Linked DNA regions of Homo sapiens: all the other regions are linked to region 1. Evidence: promoter capture Hi-C in human tissues and cell types (Jung and others, 2019). All regions are on one chromosome and are shown on one strand. The core of a region is centred on a gene start or on the middle of the fragment in contact, and the rest is flanking DNA. Distances in the headings are between cores, read along the strand shown. Region 1 holds the start of STAT5A (signal transducer and activator of transcription 5A). Region 2 overlaps ATP6V0A1 (ATPase H+ transporting V0 subunit a1). Region 3 overlaps RAB5C (RAB5C, member RAS oncogene family).

Evidence for each region. The method cuts DNA at HindIII sites, captures the fragments that hold promoters and counts their contacts. A contact is called where the count stands out against the background at its distance.
Region 2: a contact is called between a fragment that was not itself captured here and the fragment with the promoter of STAT5A in region 1, in 1 of the 25 tissues and cell types used here (pancreas).
Region 3: a contact is called between a fragment that was not itself captured here and the fragment with the promoter of STAT5A in region 1, in 1 of the 25 tissues and cell types used here (mesenchymal stem cells).

What each region holds. Positions count from the first base shown.
Region 1 is chr17:42,287,214-42,289,801 of GRCh38, forward strand. STAT5A (signal transducer and activator of transcription 5A) reads left to right here and starts at 1,285. Exons shown (of 19, transcript NM_001288718.2): 1 at 1,285-1,385; 2 at 2,189-2,326. The coding sequence starts at 2,199. It also overlaps a transcript of STAT5B not described here. RefSeq lists enhancers at 1-58, 342-842, 2,289-2,348 and silencers at 859-938, 959-1,638. The HindIII fragment of the contact is 10,924 bases long and covers 1-2,588 here.
Region 2 is chr17:42,489,621-42,492,208 of GRCh38, forward strand. ATP6V0A1 (ATPase H+ transporting V0 subunit a1) reads left to right here. Exons shown (of 22, transcript NM_001130021.3): 11 at 867-1,017. Among named protein-coding and RNA genes, the nearest start is that of MIR548AT, 3.9 kb to the right of the region's middle. The HindIII fragment of the contact is 3,999 bases long and covers 1-2,588 here.
Region 3 is chr17:42,140,841-42,143,428 of GRCh38, forward strand. The region is part of intron 1 of RAB5C (RAB5C, member RAS oncogene family); the gene reads right to left. Among named protein-coding and RNA genes, the nearest start is that of RAB5C-AS1, 12 kb to the right of the region's middle. The HindIII fragment of the contact is 7,835 bases long and covers 1-2,588 here.

The DNA of each region.
Region 1 (2,588 bases), core at 35-2,534:
TCTGAAGTTAAAAGAATGAAACTGGGAGAGGTAGTAAGGGGCAAGAAAGGAGAGTGGAAATGGAGAGAAAAGGGCAGCTCTGAGAAGCAGCTGGGGAGGGAGGCAGATGAGAATGCACCCCCCCCAACAGAACATGCAGTCTTGGCCCAGCTGTGCTGTGAGTGGGCAGCTGGGCTGGCCCCTCCTCTGGTGCTGCCAACCCGCTGCCAGGCAGAGGGGAGGCCCAGAGGAGAGGGAAGCTGGGCAAAGGGGATGGAAGGCGTCCAGCCCGACCTTACCAAACCCCTTGGGCCTCGTGGGAAGGGGCCTCTTGGAGAGGGGGACTGAGGCTCTAGACAGGATATTCACTGCTGTGGCAAGGCCTGTAGAGAGTTTCGAAGTTAGGAGGACTCAAGACGGTCCCTCCCTGGACTTTTCTGAAGGTAGAACCAGCCTCATAAGTAACTAGGCTGGGTGAACGGGGGCGCTGGCTAGTTTATGGATCACAGTCGGCTGGTGAGGCCACGTGCCTACTGTGTGGCCCTGGGTGGCCCCGGGCAAGCCCCTTTCCCTCTCAGGACTTCCATTTCTTACCTGCAAAATTGTGGAGAGGGGGAGGGCTGAAACACATGACTGCCAAGATTCTTTCCAGTTCCTCCGTCAGGGTTGAGTTTAGATGGCCGGAGTAAAAGAAGGAGGGAGGTGCTGCGGTGGTGGGGGTGATCTTGGCTTCACTAGAATCCCCAGTTCTTCCCCTCTCTACAGTTTTGTCTCTGAGGTCACAAAACCTGTGGCCCCCAAGACACACATGCGCACACACGCGCGTGCACACACACACCCCACACATTTATTTTTTAATCTAGGGGCTCAAAAGATGACACGCGCCAGAGCTGGAAGGCGTCGCCAATTGGTCCACTTTTCCCTCCTCCCTTTTTGCGGATGAGAAAACTGAGGCCCAGGTTTGGGATTTCCAGAGCCCGGGATTTCCCGGCAACGCCCGACAACCACATTCCCCCGGCTATTCTGACCCGCCCCGGTTCCGGGACGCTCCCTGGGAGCCGCCGCCGAGGGCCTGCTGGGACTCCCGGGGGACCCCGCCGTCGGGGCAGCCCCCACGCCCGGCGCCGCCCGCCGGGAACGGCCGCCGCTGTTGCGCACTTGCAGGGGAGCCGGCGACTGAGGGCGAGGCAGGGAGGGAGCAAGCGGGGCTGGGAGGGCTGCTGGCGCGGGCTCGCGCGCTGTGTATGGTCTATCGCAGGCAGCTGACCTTTGAGGAGGAAATCGCTGCTCTCCGCTCCTTCCTGTAGTAACAGCCGCCGCTGCCGCCGCCGCCAGGAACCCCGGCCGGGAGCGAGAGCCGCGGGGCGCAGAGCCGGCCCGGCTGCCGGACGGTGCGGCCCCACCAGGTGGGTGACCCGGTGGCGCGTCCTCGGCGGCGCGCCGAGAGGGGACACTCTACTGCCGCCCCGGCACCTCCGGCACCCGGAGCTCGACGGCCGGGCGCAGCGCGGGGATCAGTCCCCGGCACTGCGAGGGAGTTGGCCCAGCGCAGACGAGGGACGGGGGGACGTGGGGACAGGGGTCGGGGATGAAAGGCAGAGGCCAGGGAGGGCGCCGTCCTGGCACGCCTCGGAGAGGGAGCACCTGTCGGGCTGGACCCGGGGAGGCACTAGTGCACAGATGGGGGAGCAGCCGAAGAGGGGAGCGCCCAAGTCCTCAGCCCTGTCTCCTGAACAGCCCCAGCCACGTGCCCGAAAAGCCCTAGCCGTCGAGTGGGAGCCGTCGTGGCGCTGGCCTAACTTCGGGTTGGAATATCTCCCCTTCCCAGAAACCGGGCCCGAGGTGGGCTGGGGGATCCTTGCAGCCCTCTCCAGGGGGCCTGTGGGCCTCCCGCCGTCAAGTTTCTCTTTCAGTTTCTGGCCGTCCCCCTCACTAGGGAAGCTCCGGTGGGGCGAGGGGAGAGGAAGACGGGGAGGGCACCTGCCTCTGCAGAGCACCTTCCCCTCCCCTTCAGCGGGTTCCTTGTTGGAGGGGATGGGCGGCCCTCCACTCCTCACCATCTCTGTTCCCGCACAGGAAAGCTATCTGTGGGAGGGGAGGGGCCTGGCCTGGCCGCGGTCCAGGGATAGGTAGGCATGGCAAGGCCAGGGGCAGGCCCGGTTCCTTGGCCTCTGCAGAGGAGAGCGCTTCAGCGCTCGGCTCGCCCTAGGTGAACGGCCATGGCGGGCTGGATCCAGGCCCAGCAGCTGCAGGGAGACGCGCTGCGCCAGATGCAGGTGCTGTACGGCCAGCACTTCCCCATCGAGGTCCGGCACTACTTGGCCCAGTGGATTGAGAGCCAGCCATGGTAGGCACGTCCCGCCCTGCCCCTCCTCAGAGGGTCCCTACCATCCAGGCCCTTTGGCCTCTAGTTTTACTCATGGTGGTTTGGTGTGACTCTGGTCCTGCCTGTCCTTCTTTGTGCGGAAGGGGTGGTGCCCCTGGGAAAGGGGAAGCCTGGGAGGACAGAGAATGTTTTTAGACTCGGATGTCTGTGGAGCTGCTGGGAACAAGTCTTGTGGGCCCTGGAGTGCCCTCGGTCATGAGCCTGGGGTTTCCACTTTATTCCA
Region 2 (2,588 bases), core at 64-2,563, 200 kb after region 1:
ATTTAAACATCTTTTTGAGGCATCAAAGCTGACTGGCCAGGAGAATTAGGGTTCCAATGAGGGAAGTAAATGTTCAGCCAGAGAAGCTTATTGATTGGGGAGAGATGGTAAGTTCAGTTCCGGGCACATTGAGGTCTATGTGGAAATGTCAAGCAGACAAGGGAACAAAGCTAAGGAAATGGGAGTCATGAGAATGGAAGGGAATGAGACCTCCAAGAGGGAGGTCATAGAGAGAAAAAAAAGGTTGGGGTCTTGCAATGCTATGAGATAGGCAGAGCAGAAATAACCAGCAAAGATAGAAAAGCAATGGTCAGCGAGCAGGAGGAGAACTCCTAAGGAAGAAGGATTTTCACCAAAGATCTCCAATGTCAGGGGCGTGCATGGGGGAGAGAAGCTCTTTGGTCAGGAGCCAGTCACTTTGCCTAAGCATGCTCAGCCAGACTGCAAGGGATCAGGAAGTTAAGAGAAGGTAGTGAAGAAGGAGAGCCAGAGAACATACTTTGCTTTCTCCATGAAAGGGGGAGAACAACTTTCATAAAAAGGCAGATATGGAGGCAGTTCCACATTTTCTTTGGTGACATATTTTAAAGTTAAATTTTTTTCACATTAAGGATGTATTTCAGAGGATCTAATAGAAATCTTCCATTATAAATGTTATACCTTTTCCCAGTTTTCCCAAAAGCTGGGAAAGATAATCTAGTTTTATTTTTAGGTTTATTAGTTTTATTGAGATATAATTTACATGAAAGAAAATACATACATTTTATGTGTACCATTTGATGAGTTTCAAGAAATGTACACCTGTGTAACCACTACCACAATTAGGAGGATAACCTAAGTTTGATAAATGTGCTAATGTTTTTCAGGAACACAGTGGTTCCACTGTACCTTCCATTTTGAACAGGATGCAGACAAACCAGACTCCCCCAACCTATAACAAAACCAACAAGTTTACCTATGGCTTTCAGAACATAGTAGATGCTTATGGAATTGGAACTTACCGAGAGATAAATCCAGGTAAAAAAAAGCTTGTTATCTTTTTCCTCTAGAGTTTTTTTTGTTTGTTTGGTTGGTTTGGTTTGTTTTGAGACAGAGTCTCCCTCTGTCACCCAGGCTGGAGTGCAGCAGCACGACTGTAGTTCACTGCAGCCTCAAACTCCTGGCCTCAAGAGATCCTCCCAACTCAGTCTCCTGTATAGCTAGGACCACAGGCGCACAGCACCACACCTGGCTAATTTTTTATTTTATGATTTTTTTTTGACTGGGTCTCATTCTGTTGCCTAGGCTGTAGTGCAATGGTGAAATCACGGCTTACAGCAGCCTCAACCTCGTGGGCTCAAGTGATTCTCCCGCCTGAACCTCTGGAGTAGCTGGGACTACAGGCATGTGTCACCATGCCTGGCTAATTTTTAAAATTTTTTTAGAGATGGGTTTTGCTATGTTGCCCAGGCTGATAATTTTTAATTTTTTTTAGAGACGGGGTCTTGTTATGTTGCCCAAGCTAGTCTTGGACTCCTGGGCTCAAGGAAGCCTCCTGCTTCAGCCTCCCAAAGTGCTGGGATTACAGGTGTGACCCACTATGCCTGGCCTTTTTGTTCATTGTTTCTTCTAATGCCTCACTTTAAATGCTGTTGAATAACTGAATTAAAATTAAAGATGTTAATCCTAGCACTGTTTTTTTAATTTAATTTTATTTTTAATTTTTTTTGAGACGGAGTCTCGCTGTGTCACCCATGCTGGAGTGCAGTGGCGTGATCTTGGCTCACCGCAAGCTCTGCCTCCCAGGTTCACGCCATTCTTCTGCCTCAGCCTCCCGAATAGCTGGGACTACAGGCACCCGCCACCATGCCCGGCTAATTTTTTTTTTATTTTTTTTAGGTGAGACAGAGATTTACTCTCGTTGCCCAGGCTGGAGTGCAATGGCACGATCTCAGCTCACCACATCCTCTGCCTCCCAGGTTCAAGCGATTCTCCTGCCTCAGCCTCCCGAGTAGCTGGGATTATAGGCATGTGCCATCACGCCCGGCTAATTTTGTATTTTTAGTCGAGACGGGGTTTCACCATGTTGCCCAGGCTGATCTCTAACTCCTGACTTCAGGTGATCTGCCTGCCTCTGCCTCCCCAAGTGCTGGGATTACAGACGTGAGCCACTGCGCCCGGCCATTTTTTTGTATTTTTAGTAGAGACAGGGTTTCACTGTGTTAGCCAGGATGGTCTCGATCTCCTGACCTCATGATCCACCCGCCTTGGCCTCCCAAAGTGCTGGGATTACAAAGTGCTGGGTGGCGTGAGCCACTGCGCCCAGCCAATCCTAGCACTTTTAGAGGCCGAGGTAGGAGGATTGCTTAAGCCCAGGATTTCAAGATCAGCCTGGGCAACATAGTGAGACCCCATCTCTATTAAAAAATAAATAAACATGTTGACACCTCAGATCTTGTGTACTCCCTGTGAAGAGGTGCTCATTCTGGCAGGGCATGGTGGCTCACGCCTGTAATCCCAGCACTTTGGGAGGCTGAGGCATGTGGATCACATGAGGTCAGGAGTTTGAGACCAGCCTGGCCAACATGGTGAAACCCTGCCTCTACTAA
Region 3 (2,588 bases), core at 28-2,527, 150 kb before region 1:
ATTTTTGAGACAGGGTCTTGCTCTGCTGCCCAGGTTGGATTGCAGTGACGCAATCATAGCTTACCGCTACCTTGACTTCCTGGGCTCAAGCAATCCTCCTACCTCAGCCTCCCAAGTAGCTGGGACTACGGGCGCATGCCACCATGCCCAGCTAATTTTTCTATTTTTTGTAGAGATGGGGTTTCACCATGTTGCCCAGGCTGATCTCAGACTCCTGGGCTCAAGTGATCCACCTGCTTCAGCCTCCCAAAGTGCTGCGATTACAGGCATGAGCCACTGTGTCTGCCATCTTTCTTAATTTTTGCTGAACAAACTGTAGAGTGGTGCCCAGTGAAGAAATCAAGCAATGAATAGGTCTAAACAAGATTCAATGAGCGAATCACACTTCTGCTTCCATGGCCCCAAATGTTCATAAGACTAGTGTAGGTGGCAAGGGGCTGGAGAACTTGGGGGACTGAGGGTTGTGAGAGAGAAAGCAAGAGAAATTAAAGGCACTGTTGCAGATGAAAACAACCACATTACAAAATTCTCAAAGGCTGGACAATGGGTTTCCTTTGTGTTAACAGCACATAACAGCAAGCCTGACCCATAGTAGGTGAGCACAGATACGGTGAACTGTGCATGTGAGAGGTACCGCCCGCTTACACTTGGCAAGTGAACGGGGGAAGTTGAGGGCTTAAATCTGCATTCATCTGCCAGACGGCTCGGGTCCCCTAACAGAGCCACAGAGCAGCTGAGGAGCTGCCTCACTTCCCCAGGGAGGACTTCCTCCATCCCTACTGCACAGAGCTTAAGAGCACAAGTGCTGGAGTCAGACAACTTGAACTTCAGTTCAAGTTCTGGAGGCACCACTTACTAGGGTGGCCTGGTGTTGTCACTGAACCCATTTCCTCACACGTAAAATGGAGAGACCAGTACCACCCGTCTCCAGGACTGCCAGGAAGATGATGCATGTGAGACTCTCAGCAAAGGGCCTGGCATCGGGAAGCATTCAGTACATGTTCTGTAGCAGGGGAGCCCCTGCGCCTTCACTTCCCTGTGAAGGAGCCGGACTCCTCACTTCATCTGTCAGACAACATTCACACATTCCTCTTACCTCCAGTTTCCCGGGACTCCATTCTTCAGCACCTCTCATTTGGAGAGAATGCTGAAGAGGACGTCTTTCCTCAGTTTCCTAGAAGATACTCAGTGTCCTGTCAACAACCCCAATCTTGTATCCTCCAGAGACTAGCTCCCAAAACCACAAAAATGGAGGGGAGAAACCATTACCATCCAATAAATCTGCATGGGGTGAAGGCCCCAACCATGCAAACCATAACCTCTTAAAAAAAAAAAAAAAGCCCCATTAACACAAAGCATCTTGGGTTTTTTTTTGGTAGAGATGGGGTTTCATCATGTTGCCCAGGCTGATCTCAAACTCCTGCGCTCAAGCAATCCCCCCGCCTTGGCCTCCCAAAGTACTGAGATTACAGGCATGAGCCACCGCGCCCAGCCCACAAAGCATCTTAAAGCCCAAATGCCCTTCCTTCCATCTCAAAGCCTCTTTCAGGAAAGGGAAGAAGCAGTTCAGTTGTTGAGAGGGCTAGGGGACAGGAATAGAGCAGCTGACAAAGAAAGCAGAGTTCCTTTTAAAAACCAGGCTGCAAATGCTAGAGGTTTGGAAACTGGCGTCATTCATCACCACGCTGTCTGAGCAGCTCAGAGAGCAATCTGATGTCTAGGAGAGCAGCCAGGGTTAGAGAGGCCACCCACGCCCTCCTCCATGCCTGGGATGCCTCTGACAGCCACCTGAAGGGGACATACATGGAGCTATGAATAGAAGGCAAAAGGCTTGTAAACCAACTCCTGTTAAGATCCCAAGTTAGTGTTTCCAGCAGGGCTCAAGTTACACATTTTCAGAGAGATGACAGTACAATGGAAGGATTTCAGCTATTCAATGATTCAGGATCACGGCACAAAGTGACAGCCTACCCTGAGCCCGCCAACAGCCACAAACCGTCCCATGGGGGCAGTCCATTTTGGAAGGGCAGCAAAAGACACTGACTGGCCCGGACCATGTGGAATCTCTTACAAGACCCAGAGTCCAGGAAGGTTTAGCTGGAGAACTTAGCACCTGAAATAGAGAACGATTATATACACATGCCTCATCTTCCCACACCTCCATAGGTAAATTCCAAAGGAAAGACCAAATCAGACCATTTTTTGGATCAGTCATAGCATCAGGCAGGGGTAAGAGCAGTATGAATGGGTGAGTAGAACAACAGCCAGCTACTGGGATTAACTCCCAGGACTGCAGTTGATTCTCAGGGGGTAGATTTCCCAGGTCCACCTCTACCTTTCCCAACTCCAGAGTCTCTAGTAACTATGACTAACCATCAAGAGAAGAAATAACTCAAGGCATCCACATCACTCTATGTCAACATACCTGAGAGAAAACATTTGCTAAAAAGGCAGTGGCCTTGGAGAGCCAGCTGAATCTACAACTCTGGCACGAAATACACAAAGTAAGCCTGGGGCCGGGAGTGGTGGCTCATGCCTGTAACCCTAGCACTTTGGAAGGCTGAGGCAAGTGGATCACTTGAGGTCAG